Regions from separate parts of the Homo sapiens genome. Here region 2 is linked to region 1. Evidence: promoter capture Hi-C in human tissues and cell types (Jung and others, 2019). All regions are on one chromosome and are shown on one strand. The core of a region is centred on a gene start or on the middle of the fragment in contact, and the rest is flanking DNA. Distances in the headings are between cores, read along the strand shown. Region 1 holds the start of A4GNT (alpha-1,4-N-acetylglucosaminyltransferase). Region 2 overlaps DZIP1L (DAZ interacting zinc finger protein 1 like).

The links. The method cuts DNA at HindIII sites, captures the fragments that hold promoters and counts their contacts. A contact is called where the count stands out against the background at its distance.
Region 2: a fragment that was not itself captured here is called in contact with the fragment with the promoter of A4GNT in region 1 in 3 of the 25 tissues and cell types used here (adrenal gland, bladder and mesenchymal stem cells).

Annotation. Positions count from the first base shown.
Region 1 is chr3:138,129,978-138,136,289 of GRCh38, reverse strand. A4GNT (alpha-1,4-N-acetylglucosaminyltransferase) reads left to right here and starts at 3,900. Exons shown (of 3, transcript NM_016161.3): 1 at 3,900-4,078; 2 at 5,008-5,441. The coding sequence starts at 5,034. The HindIII fragment of the contact is 13,843 bases long and covers 1-6,312 here.
Region 2 is chr3:138,070,796-138,077,107 of GRCh38, reverse strand. DZIP1L (DAZ interacting zinc finger protein 1 like) reads left to right here. Exons shown (of 16, transcript NM_173543.3): 12 at 5,273-5,465. Among named protein-coding and RNA genes, the nearest start is that of DZIP1L, 42 kb to the left of the region's middle. RefSeq lists an enhancer at 5,880-6,312. The HindIII fragment of the contact is 3,794 bases long and covers 427-4,220 here.

The DNA.
Region 1 (6,312 bases), core at 2,651-5,150:
TCAGAAAGGTGCCACTCTTTTCTATAGGCTTCTTGCAGACCCTGTTCTTCAGTCTTTGAAAGTGGTGTCTGGGGCACAACTGGTTTATAGGGAACATTTATTAACTTTTTTCCCCTTATCTCCCTGACCTTATCCCCCACCTACTCTTTTATCTGCAAGTAAATTTAACAAAGAGGGGAAACTACATGTGTGAACACAATAATTTCCAGAACAAACCCGGAAATCAATTATTGATAGCTATGTAAAGTGTTGCAAACAGGGGCATGTTTGACTGCTGTGGCTGAGTGGAGAACAAAGAGCATTATCACCAGATACACAAGGCTAGATTCATTTCCCTGGAAATGCAGAACAGTTTAAAATATTGCTAAGGGACAAAGAGATTTTACTCCGGTGCTAACTCATTGATTTTTAGTGAAAAATACTTTTTAACAATTACTTTTTTCAGGATTTAATGTTGATAATGTCAGTCCTTAATGCATGTCAATTATTTTATTATTCCTCTATGGGTTTCCTAGTGTTATGCTATGGATTGTTCTTAGTCTGCAGTGAAATGCCTCTGTCCAGCCATCTCCTCTCCATTCATGTAAACCCAGCATTCCAGTCTTTGTTCCAACTTCAGAACAGTGGTGAAGGGAATTGGCATTGTTGATAAGATATCACTTTGTGTATTGGTTTTTCCCTGTTAATAACTGAATGCTTTAACAAGTTTATCAGCCCCGCTTGCTTAACAAATATGTTAAAACAGGAACTGTGGTTCCAAAGGCTCCAAAGTAAAGAGGACAAATATTGCTGGGTTGAAAATTTCCTTCTTGCAATAAATCTGAGTTCAAAGAAGCTATAGAATTAAGCATTGTGCTTTTCATGTGAAATTCAATTCGACAAACATTTATTGTTAAAAAAATTATTTTAACTTCCCCTTCTTAATACAGTGGGTCCTGTAGAAGGAGGAAGTTTAGTGCCAAACACTGAACTATTTTCAATTGAGGTTATCAGAGGTCATCCATAGGGCTGAAGAGTTGGGGAAATGTCTCCTCTTCTCCTCCAGTTCTATGGTTTTTCTCCCTGGTCTGCCCTTTTTTTTTTTTTTTTTAACACTAGTTCCAAACATCCAAGTATAATAGAAAAACGCTGAATTCAGAGGTTTTGTCTTATCCTGTTAATTTATTTGGGGCCACATCAATTCACATTTCCTAAGTTCTCATCAGTCAGCAACAATTGCCCAGGCTCCATAGTCTGTTGGATTGACCAAGTCTGGCTTACATTATAATGGAGGAAGCAAGAACTCTTCACACGACTCAGAAATTCCTAGGAAAGTAGACAACACCTGAATGCATATGTGACTGCCATCGCTGTATTCAGACACATCCATTGCTCAAAGACAAGTAGTTCTTTGTACATCTCTACTCAGATATCTACATTGGGGTTCCTAGGGGTTGCTTGGCTAGTTGGAGAAGGCCTGAGATTGTGTAGTGAAGAAATCCAGAAGAATTTTGAGCAGAGTTAGTGTCAAGGAGGGTCAGGGAGCAGGGACATTTCTTAGGGAAGGTGATATGTAGGAAAAGGTATGGACAAGTGACATCCTGGGTTAAGGTACTGATGTAAAATATGGTGCCAGGGTTCAGGGTCTCCTGAAGCCCATCCTTGGAGCTTCTAGGGATCTGTAAAGTCCAGGTTAAGAGCTGCTGCTGTGACACCTGCCTGAACAGACAGAAGTTAGTGTGGTATAGGCCAGGAAAGGCAGAAAGGGGTGCAGAAGGAAGGGAAAGTAGTTCTGTTTCTCAAACCAAAGGGAATGCTGAAGGATGGATGTTGGGGGCCCTGAGAAGTTCCAGGTAGAGTGGCTCAGATGACAGGAGGCCTTCTCAGAAAGACACAGGAAGGACTTTGGGCTATGAACCTACAGAGGCTCCAAGTACCAGTGACCTGGCTTCTGAACGCATCTCATCAACTCTTATACAGGGTTGAAGATTTCCCTCTTAAAAGTTCACTGGGGACCAGGCGCGGTGGCTCATGCCTGTAATCCCAGCACTTTGGGAGGCCAAAGTGGGCGGATCACTTGAGGTCAGGAGTTCGAGACCAGCCTGGCCAATATGGTGAAACCCTGTCTCTACTAAAAATACAAAGATTATCTAGGAATGGTGGCACATGCCTGTAGTCCCAGCTACTTGGGAGGCCAAGGAAGGAGAATCACTTGAACCAGGGAGGCAGAGGTTGCAGTGAGCCAAGATCACACCACAGCACTCCAGCCTGTGCAACAGAGGGAGACTCTGTCTCAAAAAAAAACAAAAAAAAAAAAAACAAGGTTAGAATAGGGAATAGATTTCACTCATCTGAACAAAACAAAACAACTTAATGTTTGTTATCAGGGAGTACAAATACCATCCATATTGATATAATTCTATTTTTCTCTTCTATTTTCCTTGGTAGAAAGTGACAATAACTTCTTTGGTTTAAAGAGAACTTTCATTCTCACAGTGAGCCTGAGGTCGGTCATTTTCTGCACTTTTCAAGGGAGTTGAGGCTCTGGGCAGTTTAGGGGCTTGTCTAGTGCCCTCAGCCTGTGGTGGCTGGAGGCATAACTCCAAGCTCAGTGCTACTTCCATCATGCTTTCTACTTGGTTCTTGGTCAGATAGGTCCTACTTTTGTGCTTGGGATTTCACTGCATTGCTGATGCTCACATTCATCCTCACCTGACAAAGGCCATTAACTACATCACTGATCTCTGCCTTGACCACTTGTTCAATAGTTTTAGCCACTGGGCTAGCAGTTGGGAGGCACTAAGATATGTGACCCACCTGAGGCCCAGGAATGTGTTATCACTCCCACAGATGGGGTCCTCTAGTTACCCCTGGGCAAGGAGCAGGAGCACTAATCTCCACTCCCCTTCATAGGAAAGAACAACCAATCTGTCCAATTACAGAGAACTTTGGAAAGATGCCAAGGCACTCTGAGCCCAGAATTAATGAGGTCCAGAGAAGAAATTCAGCTCCAAAAGGAAGAGGTTTGTGGAGACCTACAAGCTGTTTCTGGGGTCCTTGGACACATAGAAAACCAGAAGCCATCAATGAGTGGGGCAGCTTTAACTCCCTTCATGTAGGACCTGCTATGTTAGAATCTAAAGTCTGCTCAGGAGCAGGCCTACCTGCTCACACTAGAGCATCCAGGGGGAACTGTGAATACCTGCTCATGGCCAAGACAGGTGACTCTCAGCAGAGGATGGCTCCAAAGAAGATTGCTAAGAGCTCATTTCAGGGGCGGTGGAGAATAGGCCACAGGTGAGTGCTAACACCTTGGGAAATGTGGGGACTGCCACATCAGTGGAGGACAACAAAGCTGGCTTCCTGAGACTGGGACGAGGCTTATACCCCATAAGGGGGACCTTGGGGAAAAAGGAGCCTTCCTGCAGCCACTGTGACTGACACTGGGGAATCACTTCTCATTCTAGATCACTGGGCCTTTGGACTGCAGGGCTTTGTTCATTGCTTATTTGTGGTGATGGGCTCTCTTTCCTTTTAATCAAACTTTGTGCTTGCAAAGGGGAGTTTGTACCACCTTACAGGGTCTCTGTCCATAATTTTGATTCAAGCTAAACTGATCAAGTGCAGGATATGTTGGCTCCAAGGTTATGCCAGGATACAGTTTTCTCCAGGTGAAATAATCCCTTTATAACCCCCATAATAGATCCACAAACAGGCAGGATTAGTGTGTGGGTCACCTTAAAAATCTGGTAAACCCCTCTTGTTCCCAAGTGGCTGTGTTTGGGAGAACTTAGTAAAGGGAGGAGCTTCCTGGGAACTTTTTGTGTTTAGTCTCAATCTGCCAATGATTTACTTACCCCTGTGTTGTTGAGTTGGAAGATTGGGTGGTGATTTATCAGAAAGTGTAGCAGGAAGAACTTGTCATTTCTAAGACCTCAAATACTGGTTAACTGCATTTGCAGCTAGAAGTTAGGCTCTGATTCACTGTTTTGTATTTTCTAAAAGGGTTATATGTAATTTGAAAGATAGACCTGCCAAGACGTGAGATCTGTGTTCTCCTTGGTTAGAGCTAACATTTTTGGTGAGGAAAGCACTGCAGGTAACGGTTCAGAGCCTGGACTTTGGTGGCAGGTGGATGCAAGTTACAGTCACAGCTCTGCTACTTGCTAATCGTGTGATCTTGGCAATTTATTTAACTCTTTAGCCTTCAGTTTGCTTCCTTTGTTAATTTTTTTTCTTAGTTCTATTAGTTTTTCAGTTATGTTTTCTGAACCTAGAGATACTTTTGCCTCTTTTAATATTCGTAGTAGAAATTCATTTCTCTTGTTTTATTGCATTGGTTACAATTATCAGATTGTAACCAATGATGTCAGTGACAATGACAATGGACATTCATATCATATTCCTGATCTTAATGGGATGTTTCAAATGTTTCATATTAAGTATGATAATTGCTATATGTTCTGGTAGACATTGTTTAAAATCAGCTTAAGAAAGTTTCCTTGTACTTTAAAAAAATTGTGAATGGATCTTAAAGTTAGTCACATTCTTGGCATCTCTTGAGCCAAAATGATCATATGGCTTTTCTTCTTTAGACTGTTAAGATAATGCATTTTATCAATAGTTTTCCCTATTAACTAATTATTTTTAATGTCAAATCATTTTAAAATCTAAGATAAATCCTGATTGGTTATGATGCATTTTTCTTTCTCACATATTTCTTGTCTTTTTCTTTTTCTTTTTTTTTAAATTTTTGTGATGATTTTCACTATGCTGCCCAAGCTAGTCTTGAACTCTTGGACTCAGGGGATCCTCCTGCCTCAGCCTCCCTAGTAGTTGGGACTACAGGCATATGCCACCATGCCTGGCTGCATTTTTTTTTTAATATTGCTGGACTTGATTTCATCATATTTTATTTAGGATATTTAAAATTTAAGTTTTTAAATGATATTCATGTATCATTTTCTTGTGTGCTATCTTTGTCAGGTTTTGCAGCTGTGATTTTTAATTAATTGTGTTGATTTAAAGGAGCAGGCTGGCACAGAGAAGAGGACATGCGGAAGGAGCTCCAGCTCTCCCTGTCAGTCACCTTGCTGCTTGTCTGTGGCTTCCTCTACCAGTTCACCCTGAAGTCCAGCTGCCTCTTCTGTTTGCCTTCTTTCAAGTCCCACCAGGGGCTGGAAGCCCTCCTGAGCCACAGACGTGGCATTGTGTTTCTAGAGACCTCAGAGAGAATGGAGCCACCCCATTTGGTCTCCTGTTCCGTAGAGTCTGCTGCCAAGATTTATCCTGAGTGGCCTGTGGTGTTCTTTATGAAGGGTCTTACTGATTCCACACCGATGCCCTCAAACTCCACATACCCAGCTTTTTCCTTCCTGTCAGCAATAGACAACGTTTTCCTCTTCCCTTTGGATATGAAAAGGCTGCTTGAAGACACACCATTGTTTTCATGGTACAATCAAGTAAGTGTTTAGGGAAACTTAAAATGTCAACGAATTGTATATATGGGTAAACTGAGGGTAAGGACTCAGGTCGGAGATGGGAATAGAACCCACATTTGGGTTGACTCTCATTTGGCCCTCTTTTTACCATGTTGAGAACTGATTCAAATAAAGAGGGAAGACTTACATTAGGTGCATCTTTATTCTGCTGTCTTTTGCTTCTAGCCTTATTTCTTTTAGGATCTTGGTTACTTTGGAGACTATTCTTAACTGAATGAGTTTTTATATCTTTTCTAGGTGTATAGGACACTTATTTTTCACTACAGTTTTAAATCCACTTATGTTAAACTTTATTTTTTTTTTCACCTAAAGTGGAAACCAGGCAATATTTAACATGAAAATGATGTAAGTAGAAAATTCATGAAGGATGGATGAAATGCTGCGATATGAGATTGGGTTGTATTAAGATATGATTGAGAAACTCCTGGAGCTTAGAGGAATTTTGTAATCCCCAAGTTTGTAGTGAACCAGAATAAGGGAATAATGTGCCAGTCTAATATTTCTCTTATAGAGGAGCTGAAATCAGGTTGCTTAAAGAAATTATAGTACAACAACTCAATGATTCCATTATGCAGGCTTTAACTATAATTTTTTAAAACTGACATCCTATGAAGACTATAACACAATATGGAATTAAAACCACCTTATGTCATAATGTAATTATAATAGTTATAACGATTTAAGTTATGCAAAAACCCACACACATCTATTGAAAAAAAAAAAGACCTGAAAGAACTCTACAACACACAATAATAGTAGGTGTTTTCGTATAATTGGATTAGGAGTGAATTTAGTGATGAGAATGTGTTGATTTTATAAATAACATTATTTT
Region 2 (6,312 bases), core at 1,074-3,573, 58 kb after region 1:
ATGTGGCTGTGTCCACTCAGCAGGTGGCTGTGTGTGGGCATCACTGAAAGCTGTGTCTGACACCAATTATTTGTTTTTTTTTTTGAGAAGTAATAACTTATATTTTCCTATAGTTTTTTAGCAGTTACATGTATGTATGTATATACATGTATGTATGTATATTTTATTTTCAGATAAAATATCTGAAATTTAATTTTTTATTTCAGTGGGTTTTTGGGGAACAGGTGGTGTTTGGTTACATGAATAAGTTCTTTGGTGGTGATTTCTGAGATTTTGGTGCACACATCACGTGAACAGTATACACTGTACCCAGTGTGTAGCCTTTTATCCCTCTCCACCCCCATGCCCTTTCCCCCAAATCCCCAAAGTCCAATGTACCATTCTTATGCCTTTGTGTCCTCAGAGCTTAGCTCCCACATAGGAGTGAGAACATACGATGTTTGGTTTTCCATTCCTGAGTTCACTTAGAATAATAGTCTCCAATTCCATCCAGGTTGCAGCAAATGCCATCATTTTGTTCCTTTTTAGGGCTGAGTAGTATTCCATGGTATGTATATATATCAGTTTCTTTATCCACTCATTGATTGATGGGCATTTAGGCTGGTTCCACATTTTTGCAATTGCAAATTGTGCTGCTATAAACATGCATGTGTAAGTATCTTTTTCATGTAATGACTTCTTTTCCTCAGTGTAGATACGCAGTAGTGGGATTGCTGGATCAAATGGTAGATCTCCTTTTAGCTCTTTAAGGAATCTCCACACTTTTCCATAGTGGTTGTACTAGTTTACATTCCCACCAACAGTGTAAAAGTGTTCCCTTTTCACCACATCCATGTCAACGTCTATTAATTTTTGATTTTTTGATTATGGCCATTCTTGTAGGGGTGAGGTGGTATCACATTGTGGTTTTGATTTGCATTTTCCTGGTAATTAGTGATGCTGACCATCCCCACTCTGGGAAGCTCCCTCCTCATTTAAGGACAGTCTGGAGTCCTTAGGACCTCCAGTGCTGCTACCCAAGGCTTCTGGGCCCACTCCTCAGCCACTCGTCCTGATCCATTGTCTCCTTGGGTTTGGATTATTCTTGTTTCTCCAGTTCCATGAGGTGTGACCTTAGATTATCTATTTGTGCTCTTTCAGCCTTTTTTTTTGAGACGAATCTCGCTCTGTCACCATGCTGGAGTGCAGTGGTGCGATCTCGGCTCACTGCAACCTCCGACTCCCTGGTTCAAGGGATTTTCCTGCCTTAGCTTCCTGAGTAGCTGGGATTACAGGCACGTGCCACCCCACCCAGTAGAGACGGGGTTTCACCATGTTTGCCAGGATGGTCTCGAATTCCTGATCCACCCACCTCGGCCTCCCAAGGTGCTGAGATTACAGGCGTGAGCCACCGCGCCAGGCCGCAGACTTTTTGATGTAAGCATTTAATGCCATGAACTTTCCTCTTAGCACTGCTCTTGCTGTATCCCAGAGGTTTTGATAGGTTGTGTCACTATTATCGTTCAGTCAAAGAACTTTTAAGTTTCCATCTTGATTTCGTTGTTGACCCAACGATTATTCAGGAACAGGTTATTTAATTTCCATGTATTTGCATGGTTTTGAGGGTTTCTTTTGGAGTTGATTTCCAATTTTATTCCACTGTGATCTGAGAGAGTGCTTGATATAATTTCGATTTTCTTAAGTTTACTGAGACTTGTTTTGTGGCCTATCATCTGGTCTATCTTGGAGAATGTTCCATGTGCTGATGAATAGAATATATATTCTGCAGTTGTTGGGTAGAATGTTCTGTAAATATCTGTTAAGTCTATTTGTTCTAGGTTATAGTTTAAGTCTATTGTTTCTTTGTTGACTTTCTGTCTTGATGACCTGTCTAGTACTGTCAGTGCAGTCTTGAAATCCCCCACTATTATTGTGTTGCTGTCTATCTCATTTCTTCGGTCTAGTAGCAATTGTATTATAAATTTGGAAACTCCAGTGTTAGGTGCATATATATTTAGAATTATGATATTTTCCTGTTAGACTAGTCCTTTTATCATTATGTAATGTCCCTGTTTGTCTTTTTTAACTGCTGTTGCTTTAAAGTTTGTTTTGTCTGCTATAAGAATAGCTACTCCTGCTCGCTTTTGGTATCCATTTGCATGGAATGTTTTTTTTCCGCCCCTTTACCTTAAGTTTGTGTGAGTCCTAATGTGAGTTTAGGTGAGTCTTCTGAAGACAGCAGAAACTTGGTTGGTGAATTCATATCCATTCTGCCATTCTGTATCTTTTAAGTGGAATATTTAGGCCATTTACATTCAATGTTAGTATTGAGAGGTGAGGTACTATTCTATTCATTGTGCTATTTGTTGCCTGAATACCTTGCCTTTTTTTTTTTTCGTGTATTATTGTTGTATAGGTCCTATGAGATTTATGCTTTAAGGAGGTTCTGTTTTGTTGTATTTCATGGATTTGTTTCTGTATACATGTGTAACAAACCTGCATGTTGTGCACATGTACCCTAAAACTTAAAGTATAATAAAAAAATAAATTAAAAAAGAAGATTTAGAGATCCTTTTAGCAGTTCTTGTAGTGCTGGCTTGGTAGTGGCGGATTCTCTCAGCATTTGTTTGTCTGGAAAAGACTGTATCTTTCTTTCATTTATGAAGCTTAGTTTCACTGGATACAAAATTCTTGGCTGATAATTGTTTTGTTTAAGGAAGCTAAAGAATAGGACCCCAATCCCTTCTAGCTTGTAGGGTTTCTGCTGAGAAATCTGCTGTTAATCTGAGAGGTGTTCCTTTATAGGTTACCTGGTGCTTTTGCCTCACAGCTCTTATGATTCTTTCCTTCATCTTGACTTTAGATAACCGGTTGACTATGTGCTTAGGTGATGATCTTTTTGCAATGAATTTCTCAGGTGTTCTTTGAGCTTCTTGTATTTGGATGCCTAGGTCTCTAGTAAGGCTGGGGAAGTTTTCCTCAATTATTCCCTCGAAGATGTTTTCAAGCTTTTAGATTTCTCTTCTTCCTTGGGAATAACAATTATTCTTAGGTTTGGATGTTTAACATGGTCCCAAGCTTCTTGGAGACTTTGTTCATTTTTTTAAAATTCTTTTTTGTCTTCTATGGATTGTGTTAATTCGAAAGCCTTGTCTTTGAGCTCTGAAGTTCTTTCTTCTGCTTGTTTGATTCTATTGCTGAGACTTTTCAGTGTATTTTGCATTTCTCTAAGTGTGTTTTTGATTTCCAGAAGTTGTGATAACTTTTTATTTATGCTATTTCACTAAAAAATTTTCCTTTCATCTCTTGTATAACATTTTTTGTTTCTTTAAGGTGGGCTTCACCTTTCTTTGGTCCCTCCTTGATTAGCTTAATAATTGACCTTCTGAATTCTTTTTCTGGCAATTCAGAGATTCGTCTTGGTTTGGATCCATTGCTGGTGAGCTGGTATGATTTTTGTGGGTGTTAAAGAACCTTGTCTTGTCATATTACCAGAATTGTTTTTCTGGCTCCTTCTCATTTGGGTAGACTATGTTAGAGGGAAGATCTGGGATTCAAGAGCTGCTGTTCAGATGCTTCTGTCCCATGGGGTGCTCCCTTGATGTAGTGCTCTCCCCCTTCCCCTAGGAATGGGGCTTCCTGAGAGCTGAACTGTAGTGATTGTTTTTGATCTTCTGGGTCTAGCCACCCAGTAGAGTTACAGGCTGGTACTGGGGAGTGTCTGCAAAGAGTCCTGTGATGTGATCCATCTTCAGGTCTTGCAGCCGTGGATACTATTCCAGCACCTGCTCCAGTGGAGGTAGTAGGGGAGTGAAGTGGACTCTTGAGGGTCCTTGTTTTTTCTTTTTGTTTGTTTAGTGCATTGGTTTTGTGTTTGTTGGCCTCCAGCTAGGAGGTGGTGCTTTCAAACTGTGGTCCTATAGGGAGGATGCATACTTCCCTACTTGCCCTAGGGACACCTGGTTAAGTATTCAGGTTTCTCAGGCGGTGGGCAGGGCCATACAGCTCCTAAGGGATTATGACCTTTGTCTTCAGCTACCAGGGCGGGTGCAGGAAGACCACCAGGTGGGGCCAGGGATAGACGTGTCTGAGCTCAGCCTCTCCTTGGGTGTGGCTTGCTGCAGCTACTGTTGGGGATGAGGGTGTGTTCCCAGTCCAATGGAGTTATATTCCCAGGGGGATTATGGCTGCCTCTGCTGAGTCATACAGGTCGCCAGGGAAGTGGGGGAAATCTGGCAGTCACAGGCCTCAGCCCATCTCCACGCAGCCTGCGGTCCTAAAGTCCGGTCTCACTCGCACTGTGCCCCACCAACAGGAGCAAGTCTATTTCCAAGCAGCCAGTGACCAGGGCTGGGAACTTGCCCCAGACCACAAACCTCCCCATTGAGAAAGCAAGCAGACTCAGGTTTTCGGCATCTCAGGGAGTCTGCAGCAGTGATCCAGTTCCTTTACAGGGTCTATGGATTCTCTCTCCAACTAGTATTTGAATGCCATTGTGCTTAACCAGAACACGTATGTTATTATTAGAAGCACCAATGAAATCTATTATTAAATAAAAACACACCTATTATTAAATTAGCCAAGCATTACACTATTGGAATGCTGTTTGTGTAGAGTAAGTTAGAAAAAAAAAATAGACAACTAGGGTTATTTTAGGAAGAATGGTCACTACTTTGATTGTTTTCAACTACTGACTACTCTAACTTTGGCCCTATATTCAGATTTGATTAAGACATTCCTTTCTAACCTTGCATGAATCCTCATCTTGGATTCAGATGCCTCCCTGGACCCTCCCATGGGCTCTGGGTGGATGTCAAAAGCTCGAGCAACTTCCAATAGGTCTTGAAAGGGTACTTGGATTGTGTTTACAGCAGTTTAGTTTTTTAAACATTGTTAGCCATGGACAGTGTGTTTGGCATAATAATAGTAATTGGGAGTACAAAAATGAGCAAGCTGTGGTCTCTTATCCTAGGATTCAGTCAGATGGTAGAAAAGCATGTTCCAACGAAGTCCCTTATGCTATGATGTGGTCAGAATTGTGACGCAGTCCTTTGCATTATCCTGCTGTGCACATTTTGATGGGGCTCCCAAACCCTGAACCATTGCACTTTCAGCAACTTTGAAGCCGCTGCTTACCCTTCTCTGATCCTCATTTCATGCCCCCCAGTCCTGCAAGAAAAGCACCAGGCACTGATCACAGACTCCCAGGCCAGCAGCAGCAGGTGTGAGAGGCTTAGGGGAAGGAGAAGAAGGGTAGCCTCTCTCTGTAAAGGTGAACTCCTGTCTCCTCTAGGATGCAAAGGGAATCTCGATTCAGACTCTCAGACACCTGGAATCCCTGCTGAGAGTCCAGCGGGAGCAGAAGGCCCGGAAGTTTTCTGAATTTCTGAGTCTGAGGGGAAAGCTTGTCAAGGAAGTCACCAGCAGAGCGAAGGAGAGACAGGAGAATGGCGCTGTGGTGTCCCAGCCAGACGGGCAGCCTTCAGGTACACTGGGGAGAGGGCTTGCTCAGGGCTGTGACCTGTAAGGGTCCCATTCTTGCCAAAACTTGTTTGCACATGAGGAGGGTATAGTCTCTGTCCCCCATTAGGGGCACTTCTCTGAAGGGCTGAGCTGGTAGGGTCCTTACAGGGGACTGAGTCCAGAAGTTCTCTGTTGAGGAAATAGGATCTGGGGTGGAGTGGGGGCATTTGTCCAGGGTCACTCGGGGAAGTTGGAGGAGAGCCGGAGCTGGAGCCTGTTGTCAGCCTGAACTGTCCCTGTGCAGACATGCTGCCTCCCTTAGCACCTTCATTCTGTTTGGCTTGTTGCGACCACAGTTGAGTGTCTCTTCAACAGAGAGCAGCCTATTCAGTTTCTGGCTCTACACACCAGGCATGCCAGCCTGGGGAGGCAGGCAGAGGCCCGGGAGCATTGAAGCTGCAGGTGGAGGCAAATATCAATTGAATGTAAACTTCTGCAGAGCTCAGATAGCCCCTGCTCTGGCCATGGGAGAGCATGAGAGACTGGGCCAGTTCTGCACGCAGATGAATTCTCAGAGCTCATAGTTGGTTCCTTGGGCCAGGTCATAGCTGCCACTTTACCATTTGTCCATGCTCTGGGGGTCATGACAAGAGAAGGCCCTGTGGTTCTGGTGGAACACGAAATTCTGTGGACCAGGACCCTTGAGTCTGTTCTTACGGAGCAAGTGTATTTGTGTTCCCAGGTTTGAGAGCCCCCTGTTTCCAGAGGGTTCCAAGAGGGTCTGGGCTGCTGTGGTGAGAGGCTCTGGGGAGGGCTTCAGTGGGTCTGGTCTGCTCATGCAGGTGCTGTCCTGCTCCTTTTACTTCGTCT